Linked DNA regions of Homo sapiens: regions 1 and 3 are each linked to region 2. The links are contacts of gene promoters, found by promoter capture Hi-C in human tissues and cell types (Jung and others, 2019). All regions are on one chromosome and are shown on one strand. The core of a region is centred on a gene start or on the middle of the fragment in contact, and the rest is flanking DNA. Distances in the headings are between cores, read along the strand shown.

What was found. Contacts are between HindIII fragments. The study calls those that stand out against the background at their distance.
Region 1: a contact is called between a fragment that was not itself captured here and the fragment with the promoter of KCNN2 in region 2, in 1 of the 25 tissues and cell types used here (dorsolateral prefrontal cortex).
Region 3: a fragment that was not itself captured here is called in contact with the fragment with the promoter of KCNN2 in region 2 in 1 of the 25 tissues and cell types used here (aorta).

The regions. Positions count from the first base shown.
Region 1 is chr5:114,771,382-114,774,683 of GRCh38, forward strand. LOC101927078 (a long non-coding RNA gene) reads right to left here and starts at 2,032. Exons shown (of 13, transcript NR_130785.1): 1 at 1,954-2,032. The HindIII fragment of the contact is 3,867 bases long and covers 1-3,227 here.
Region 2 is chr5:114,360,330-114,363,583 of GRCh38, forward strand. KCNN2 (potassium calcium-activated channel subfamily N member 2) reads left to right here and starts at 1,741. Exons shown (of 8, transcript NM_021614.4): 1 at 1,741-2,932. The coding sequence starts at 1,811. RefSeq lists an enhancer at 1-770 and a silencer at 809-1,018. The HindIII fragment of the contact is 16,034 bases long and covers 1-3,254 here.
Region 3 is chr5:114,061,155-114,064,140 of GRCh38, forward strand. It overlaps a transcript of KCNN2 not described here. Among named protein-coding and RNA genes, the nearest start is that of KCNN2, 300 kb to the right of the region's middle. The HindIII fragment of the contact is 4,033 bases long and covers 1-2,986 here.

The DNA.
Region 1 (3,302 bases), core at 44-2,543, 410 kb after region 2:
TCTCCGAGAACTTTCAGGTCTTCCCCTGTGCTGCATCACCAGTCCCACCAACCAGGCCTGGCAGTTTGGAATAATACCCCAGCCTTTATCCCACAGTGGTCCATGTCTCCAGAAACACTACCCAGACTATATCAGGAATTGGCTTTCAGTGATTTCTTAAAATGTCAGGGCCCTGGCTCCTGGGTTTCCCCAATAAGCAAAGCTTCCTCTTCCTATCCTTTATTGAAGCCCACTATCTTCACTGCCTAAGAACACTTGGCATTGTCCCTTCCTCTTATCTCTGGGCCACTTAAGCTTGACTATTTTCTAAACTTCTCTCTCCCCTAGACATCCAAATACTTTTGTTCCTATTAGTGCCCAGACCCAAAGATCTCGTCCTTGAGATTCCTGGTAATGCAATGTTTGGGACCAGTTAATTCCAGGGTTTAGAGCCTCACAGCGACTCACAGACCCTATTTCTTTGGAACTGGTGCTAAGTTCACCTCTTGCTTTCCTGTTCTTTCTTCCTTCTGAATTCATGGAGACTTGAATCAGTGGGTTTCCTTTAGGCCTGGGGATATTTTTCCTGCTACGTTTTAAGAGCTTCATCTCAGGCTACCTGTGGTCTCATGACATTTTAACCAGGTTGCTGGTCAAAGATGCACAGCACTCCAGGACTGAAAATTTTGAGGGATTCTTCAAATGCAGCCCAGGCCCTTAACTTACCAGAAGTTAGAAAAATAATAACATTTAATTTAGTGAATTCTTAATAAATTCTTCCCAGTGAGTTTATCCAGTGTTAAGCACCTCATATACATGATCACAATTATCCTCAAATCTCAATGAGATAAATATTTTTATTATGTCCATTTTACAGGTGAAGAAATTGAAATTCAAAAGGGCTAAACAATTTGCCCAAGATCACAAAACTAGTAGGGCCAAAGTCAAGTCTGAGTGCACTTACCTACTAGGCATACTGCCACTGAAATTATTTTTTTAACAAGCCCTCTGAAACCAACCCTAATATGTTACTAATCTGTGCATTTATAAGCCAGTTTCAGATGACTTCTCTAGTTAAGAGGCTGGCAAATGACATGATGGTCCAGCCCAGAAAAGCTTGTTGAGAACTGCTAAGCAGAGCTGGAAGCTCCCCGTCAAACATAGCTCACAAAGAAGGTTTTCTATGAGGCCCTAGGAGATTGTATTAGTCTGTTTTCCTACTGCTGATAGACTGCGCAATTTACAAAAGAAAGAGGTTTAATGTACTTACAGTTCCACGTGGCTGAGCAGGGCCTTACAATCATGGCAGAAGGTGAAAAGCACATCTTACATGGTGGCAGACAAGAGAATAATGACAGCCAAGTGAAAGGGGCTTCCCCTTATTAAACCATCAGATCTTGTGAGGCTTATTCACTGCTACAAGAACAGCATGGGGGAAACTGCCCCCATGATGCAATTATCTCCCACTGGGTTCCTCCCACAACACAAGGGAATTATAGGAGCTACAATTCGAGATTAGATTTGCATGGAGACACAGCTGAACCAAATCAGAGATGTTCTGAAACTCAGGGAAACTCAGAATAGGGAAAGATTGTCCAATATAGTCCTAAAGAGTCAAGATCAACCCTTGGAGTCATTGACTATTAATGACAGTCATCATCCCTACTTCTTCTCCCTGAGAGGCCATCAAACTCTCAAAATAGCCAAGCTTGGCTTCTGACCAGCTGACAGAACTAAGGCCCCAGAGACTTCTCTATTATTATGTGAGGGTTCACTGGAAGTTGCCAAGTTAACCAAGCTAATTTCTAAATTTCTAGTCAGGATGACAAAGGCAACTGAAACATCTGGCCCAATCATAAGTATGGCCCATATTAGCCATACTTGGGCTTCCCAGAGGATCACTTTAAAATTTTTAGGTATATTACAACTACATGAAACACCCTCAAGATTAGCCCCAGAACTTGTGCATCCCACCTCTGGCTTGAGCTCCCCAGGAACTCCCACACATCTAACATCCTGCAGTTGCACAATACTGCTGTTGGAACTTTTGGCTAAGTGGTCTTTCCTGAATGTCCTTTCCATTATGTCTCCATAGTTATACACCAGGTTACAAAGGAGAAGTTCCAGAACTCCGCTTCATACTCAAACCTTGGTTCTCCACCCTGTAAGTATAATCCTGAATCCTGACTTCTAGCTCCAGGGGTACCCACAACACTAGTATATCCCTTCTGTTTCATTCATTGTCTATAAGGCATTGACAAGGCAACTTGGTATAAAACACAACCCAAGAGATATAGATAGTAGTTCCAGAAGTGTCACTGACTAGGCAATTCATTGAAATGTATGTGCTCCAGTCTCCTCATCTCTGGGATGAGCAGTCTGAATGATTACGAGGCTTCTTGCCAGCTCCAGCTGTCCAGGTTTTCCGCTCCAATGTTTTGCTGCCATTTAAAGTGAGAAATAGCTTATTCCCTAATTATTCCTTTTCTTTTCTTCCCTATAGTGGCTGGTATTTCCACTTTGTTCCCTAATGTCTTAACCTTGGAGACATCTTTGATTTTGTTTTTGTTTTGTCTGGATAACTAGCCTAACAATGCCAAGTTCTAACATATCCCTCTACCTCCATTGTTTCAGCCTCCATCCATGTCGTTTTTACTTGTATACAAACTTCTCCAATTTTCTTGCTAATTTAGCCCTCTTACCTTTTTTCTTCCCAACACTTTATACAGTTATACAACAACAATCAACTCCTTCATGTGTTATTTGATGTTTTCCTTCTGATGAGAGGCTCCCAAGTACCTCTTGCATTGGTTAAACTTTTAATAAAGGGTTTCAACCAGTATCCTAAGCATATTCATCTCAGGCTACCTGTGGTCTCATGACATTTTAAATTTGTAGAGAGAACACAATAGTAAGGAACTCTTGAAATAATATTTGTGGTTTCTTTCAGACCCCTAAACTTAGAAAAGGTTATAGAAAGTTAGTTGCTGCTTATTAACATCTAATAGCTTGCGTTATTCCCATAGGGAGAAACAAAAAAAATTAGCAATTGCAATTTGACAGTGACACAAACACCTGTCTGGCTAACGAATTCGTTGCCAAGTGCATGTTCCAAAAGAGAAAGCAATGTCACCTTTAACATAAGTGGCTTTTCTTAGAATGCCGGAGTTACACCAAGGGAAAGTAAAATCTGTGAATAACAAAATAAAAATTATTGGAGTTATGTCTCTGTGAACATTAAAATGGGAGTACTATGTCATTTGAGTTCACTATACTGCATTTCCCATCTTTTTCATGAACAATCATGGTGCCAACCCCCATTA
Region 2 (3,254 bases), core at 491-2,990:
TAAGCAACTTTAGGGCAGCTGCCGAGTAGAATATCAAGAAATTGGATCCAGCTGAGAATTCCAATTACCTAATGACCTAATGAGGGTGATCCGCTTTCACTCTAATTGCTAGGTCTAACTCGTTGTAATAGTCTTTATCATGAAAAGCAGGCTTTAAAATAATTTAAAATGGAAACAAATATTCAACGGGCCAATTTCTTTCACCTTCTTTAGGGGGAGACGGGAATTTGAATTCACAAAGAAATGCAAATGTAAAGACTTAAGATGGAGCAGAAACAAAGAACATAAGGATCACCTAGTGCATTGTGTTGGTACATCTCTTAGAAGAAGACAGCACAGGGAATTTGTGAGACACCAAATGCAATTTTTGTTAGTTTATTAGAGAGTAAATAAATAAATAATGATACCGAACTCCAACAAAACTCCAGCACTGTCCGTGGGCAGCGACTATTCAGCCCAAGCTATCATTCTTAATTTCCCTGCCAGGCTGCGACTACCGGGGTGAATCAGCCCGCGCCAGGCCCCTTTCCCACCCGCCGCTGCAGTTAGGACTTGGCAAAGATGCTCGATATTTGCGTATTTGTGACCGGTCTTTGCTTTGTGTCTGCGCTGCAGGTGAGGAGGAGGAAGAGAAGCAGAAGAGCAGCTGGAGGCCGGCGGTGGCTGAGCAGCCCCCACACCTTTGAGCGAGCCGCCTGCCTCTCCACCGGCAAGGAAGCCCTGGGACCTCCGGATTCGGGCTGCCGGAGGGCCTGAGCGCCAGAGCCCAGGACCCGGCGGCCGGGGGCGCCATCCCCTCATGTTCTGGAGAAGGCGCAAATGTGAGCTGGCGGTAGCGGGGAAAGCCCTCCGCCCCCGCCAGGGGGGACCCGGGAAGCCCGGCCGGCTCTGTCGGCAGACTGCGGGGATCCCCTCCTCCGGCCCCGCCCCCACCCACCCCCGGCCGGGGTGCCGAGGCGGTTAACCCTACCCGCGCCGCAGCGCACTTGGGCTAGAGCGCCGCGCACCCAATCCAGATTCCAGAGCCTGCCGGCTGGGAAAGATCCGGTCTCGGGGTCGGCTATGATCCCGCAGCGGCCAAGGCAGGGCTCAGGCCCCGGGATTCTCCCCACACGCTGCTGCACTGGCGCAGCCGGTCGCCAAACTTTTTCTCCCCAAAGCCAGTGCCCCCGCAGTTACTTGGCGGGCAGCCGGCAGCCCACTCTCGGCGGGATGATCTGGGAGAAGCGGGCGTGGGACGAGGGGGCTGCTGTTTTGCAGCCCTGCGAGGCGTGCAGTCGGAGAAGTGGTCGGGGTTCCACACCGTCCCTGAGCCTGCCCCCGGCCAAGGTGGCCCGACGTGCTGCAGTGGCTGGCGCAGGTGATCCGGGCAGCGCGTCCGGCACTAGTCAAGGGGGCAGCGGCACGGGAGGGAGGGGCGCCTTTCTCTTTTCTCCTCCCCCTGCAGCCCAGCTGCACTGCGTGGGGGCTCTCCATCTCCACGCAATCAGCAGGCGGAATCCCTGCCCTGGAGCGCCCTGGCTCTGGACTGCACCCCCCTAGGGTTTGTCCTGCAGATTCCCCTCCCCATCTTTCTCTGCCACACACGCTTCCCTAAGCCGCGCGCGCCGCAAACTCAGTCTCGGTCCCCGCAGGTGATGTCATGCCCATTGTTTTGGTGCGCCCAACCAATCGGACTCGCCGCCTGGATTCTACCGGAGCCGGCATGGGCCCTTCCTCGCACCAGCAGCAGGAGTCCCCGCTCCCGACCATAACGCATTGCGCAGGGTGCACCACCGCTTGGTCTCCCTGCAGCTTTAACAGCCCTGACATGGAAACCCCATTGCAGTTCCAGCGCGGCTTCTTCCCAGAGCAGCCGCCGCCGCCGCCGCGCTCCTCACACCTGCATTGCCAGCAGCAGCAACAGAGCCAGGACAAGCCGTGCCCGCCCTTCGCGCCCCTCCCGCACCCTCACCACCACCCGCACCTCGCGCACCAGCAGCCGGCCAGCGGCGGCAGCAGCCCATGCCTCCGGTGCAACAGCTGCGCCTCCTCCGGTGCCCCGGCGGCGGGGGCGGGAGATAACCTGTCCCTGCTGCTCCGCACCTCCTCGCCCGGCGGCGCCTTCCGGACCCGCACCTCCTCGCCGCTGTCGGGCTCGTCCTGCTGCTGCTGCTGCTGCTCGTCGCGCCGGGGCAGCCAGCTCAATGTGAGCGAGCTGACGCCGTCCAGCCATGCCAGTGCGCTCCGGCAGCAGTACGCGCAGCAGTCCGCGCAGCAGTCGGCGTCCGCCTCCCAGTACCACCAGTGCCACAGCCTGCAGCCCGCCGCCAGCCCCACGGGCAGCCTCGGCAGTCTGGGCTCCGGGCCCCCGCTCTCGCACCACCACCACCACCCGCACCCGGCGCACCACCAGCACCACCAGCCCCAGGCGCGCCGCGAGAGCAACCCCTTCACCGAAATAGCCATGAGCAGCTGCAGGTACAACGGGGGCGTCATGCGGCCGCTCAGCAACTTGAGCGCGTCCCGCCGGAACCTGCACGAGATGGACTCAGAGGCGCAGCCCCTGCAGCCCCCCGCGTCTGTCGGAGGAGGTGGCGGCGCGTCCTCCCCGTCTGCAGCCGCTGCCGCCGCCGCCGCTGTTTCGTCCTCAGCCCCCGAGATCGTGGTGTCTAAGCCCGAGCACAACAACTCCAACAACCTGGCGCTCTATGGAACCGGCGGCGGAGGCAGCACTGGAGGAGGCGGCGGCGGTGGCGGGAGCGGGCACGGCAGCAGCAGTGGCACCAAGTCCAGCAAAAAGAAAAACCAGAACATCGGCTACAAGCTGGGCCACCGGCGCGCCCTGTTCGAAAAGCGCAAGCGGCTCAGCGACTACGCGCTCATCTTCGGCATGTTCGGCATCGTGGTCATGGTCATCGAGACCGAGCTGTCGTGGGGCGCCTACGACAAGGTACAGGCTTGAACCCCAGCCCACGCTACCGGAGTCGGGCACTGGGTGGTTGGGATGGGCACTGGCGGGGACCCTTTGCGTGCGGATCCCTAGCCTCTCCGGGACGATCAAGGGAGCCCGCCAGGACAGCGGGCGCGTCTAGGACGCGCATCCGTAGTCAGCTAAACAACTCGGAGATGAACCCTTTCCGCGTGCAGCCAAAGTTCTCGAGGCAGTTAAGAGTGCTCAGCGCATTCGGGCACCTTAAGTAAGTGGTTCTGGAAGTCGGTGGGGAAACCATCTGTAATTCATCCCCTCGTGAATTATGTTTAGAAGGGCCCTT
Region 3 (2,986 bases), core at 248-2,747, 300 kb before region 2:
ACTAAGACACAGTCTCTGCTTTCAAGGAAATCACAGTCTAGTTATTGGCCAGGGGGACAGACAAATAAACAGACAATTGCAAATACACATTCATGGGATCACTCCTAGTACCCCAACTCCAAGACGCTACCTCCCCACCCCCACTACTGCTGAGAAGAATGGTGTGAATATAGTAATATGGTGGTCCCTTGTATTTGCACATATATTTACAGTTTACAAATAATGTTTACTTTTAATTATTTCATTTGATTTTCACAACTTTATGAGATAGGTAGAGATACTACACCCATTTTATAAATGAAATCTAAGACTCCATTGAGCAGATGCCTCTATAACGAAGGCAAAAGTGTCTCATGCAGGACACTGCCATGATTTGTCCTTCCAGCCCTTTTGTACACTGTTCCCATTCAGGGATCTAGTTTGCCACCTTTGTGGGCATGGGGTTTGATTCTGTGAGTTCATTGCTTGGGTTTGATGGCCAAGTTTAGCTTCCCTGTTGGGACCTTTGTTTTCTGTAGATACATGGACAACTCTTGCATTCAGGTGGGTTTGTGCAACCATTCTGATCTCTGGGACTCAATTTTAGCACTGGCCTGGAGGCAAAGCCCAGGTGAGGACCATGATGGTTTCCCTGGGAAGAGGGATTGGTGATAGACATTAGGTTGATTGTCTATGCTTGTGCAACTGGGAAGTGGAGGATCTGGTAGAAGAACCTTCAGATAGCACAGTTTTACGAAGCTTGTCCAGTCAACTGGATGTTTTTCTTGACTAGAGAAAAAATACAGGAATCACTTTATCCTCCTTAAAAACTGAATGACTTATTTACATTTCCCCAAAGATGACCAACTGTAATTGGTCATTTATCAAATATTTAGACATCTTCTCATACAGAATACATCATTGATTAAAATTTGCTTATGGTTATTTATTTAAGATATATGGGTTCTTTTTTTTTTTTTATAAAATTTAGTCAAGGAAAGTAAACTTCACAGACTTGTCACGTAGTTATAATGTGGGAAAATGAGTTTGTTGCCCAGAACAACATGTATTTACCTAATCTACTTCTGTGTTTTTATCTTTGTGTAAGATACTATTACAGTAAGTATTTCTGCTGCCCACAGAATATCTGGGCAGGGCAGCGCAAAGACCTCCTGCCAGACATGCAGTGCAGCAAGAGGATGATTTTGGCTGTAGTGGTTCAGAAGTACTGAAAGAGCACCCTACCTCCACAGACCTGTTACCACAATAACTTTGATTATATTGTCTTATGTAGGAGAAAAATAGGTTTACTGATCATTTTCTTCGACTTTAAATATGAGGTTTGTGAAACACATGAGAAATAAGAGCCAAAGTTTATGAAAAGTGAGTTTTGAAGAGGGCCTTTTAATTTTCATTTGCTTCAGTGTACTAGGGATCAAGTTACATGTTAATTGACTGGTGAAGAAATCCTAGTAAGAAATTTGTCCTATATGCAGGGAGAACAGTCTGAATTAGCAAAAAGTCTCAATTACGGTGTGTGTGTTTTAATAAATATCTTTGTTTTACTTCCAATTCATGCGTTATTATACTTAAAAAGTGTTTTGCATTAGTCTCTTCTTTCATGTATAAGACCTCACATGTAGTTATTAACATCCATTGAATATAAACAGGTAAGTCCTTAAAAAAACCCTGTTTTTCTTTTAAGGCAGTTAAAATGTTAGGATACTAATTTGCTAGACAGAACTCTTCATTGCACTTAGGTAAACTTCATTCCAAGCTAATTCAAAAGAGCATGATTTCCAAATTACTGAAACCTGAATGATTTTTGCTATAAATTCCCATTAAAAATCAAGCATCCAGTCAAAGATAAAGCTTGATTTTCTGCTTAACTTTAAGGAAGAGTTTTTTCTTTCCATGTCAGAGAAAAATTTGCTCACTTGTATTGACAGTTTTAGTGTGTCCTGAAAGAGACAGGCCTTAGCAACTGCAGGCAGCTGTGCTCAGCTCCTCCCTCATTCCACACTCTAGCCCCTACTGTGGATGTAAAAAAGTTTCATGCAGCCCCTCAGACAAATGACTGACAAAAACTAAGCCCCAGATGATGATTATCATGTATGTGTCTGCAGCTGAGGCTGCTCTTTGACAGGGCATCTCTGGCCAGTCAGCATTGATTGACTCATCCTGCTATGCTTTTTATATGCCTGTTGCAATACAGAAATATGATTTTGCCATATGTGGGATAGTAGAGACAGAGGAAGATGAAAGCATGGCAGCCCAGATCAGTGCTTCTTAAATTCATGGTTTTCAAAACACAGATTTCTGGGTCCCACTCCCAGAGATTCTGACTCAGTGTCTAGAGAACCACCCCCCCTCCAAATTTCCATTTCTAACAAAGGCTCCCAGGTGATGCTGATGCTGCAAGTCTGTGGAACATACTTCAGGCAGCACTGGCCTAGATAGCTAATTTTGAGAAGACTCAGGTGAGGATAATGGAACTGCATTTCAGAAATAAAATTCATCAGAACATGACTAGTCCACCAGAGGGAGATAAGGCAATGCTAGGCTGACCAGCTGCACCAGTTTGACCCAGACCATCCTGATTTTAGCACTGAAAGTCTTGTGTCCTAGGAAACCACTCAGTCCCAGACAAACTGGAAAGTTGGTCACCCTAAAAGGCATACTAAGCTAGTTTACTATGGCAGCTTTAATGTAATTTAAAGTGATTGGTGTGTAGTCTAACTTTTAAACTCCTGGTGTGTTTTAAGACAAGCCATTGAGCATACTGTGAAATGACAGGTAACCACATGTAACAGAGGCAATGCCAGCTAGAGCCTTCAGTTTTTCTAAATCTCTTTTCTCACAACTTATGGTGGATCAGGGATTCCCAGACTTGTCCGCAGATTGGAATCACCTGGAGAGCTTAACGAAATGCTTGTGTTCTACTCCCAGAGATTGTGAATTAATTGGCTTGGGGAGTGGCCTGGATGCTTATAGTTTTAAAAAGATC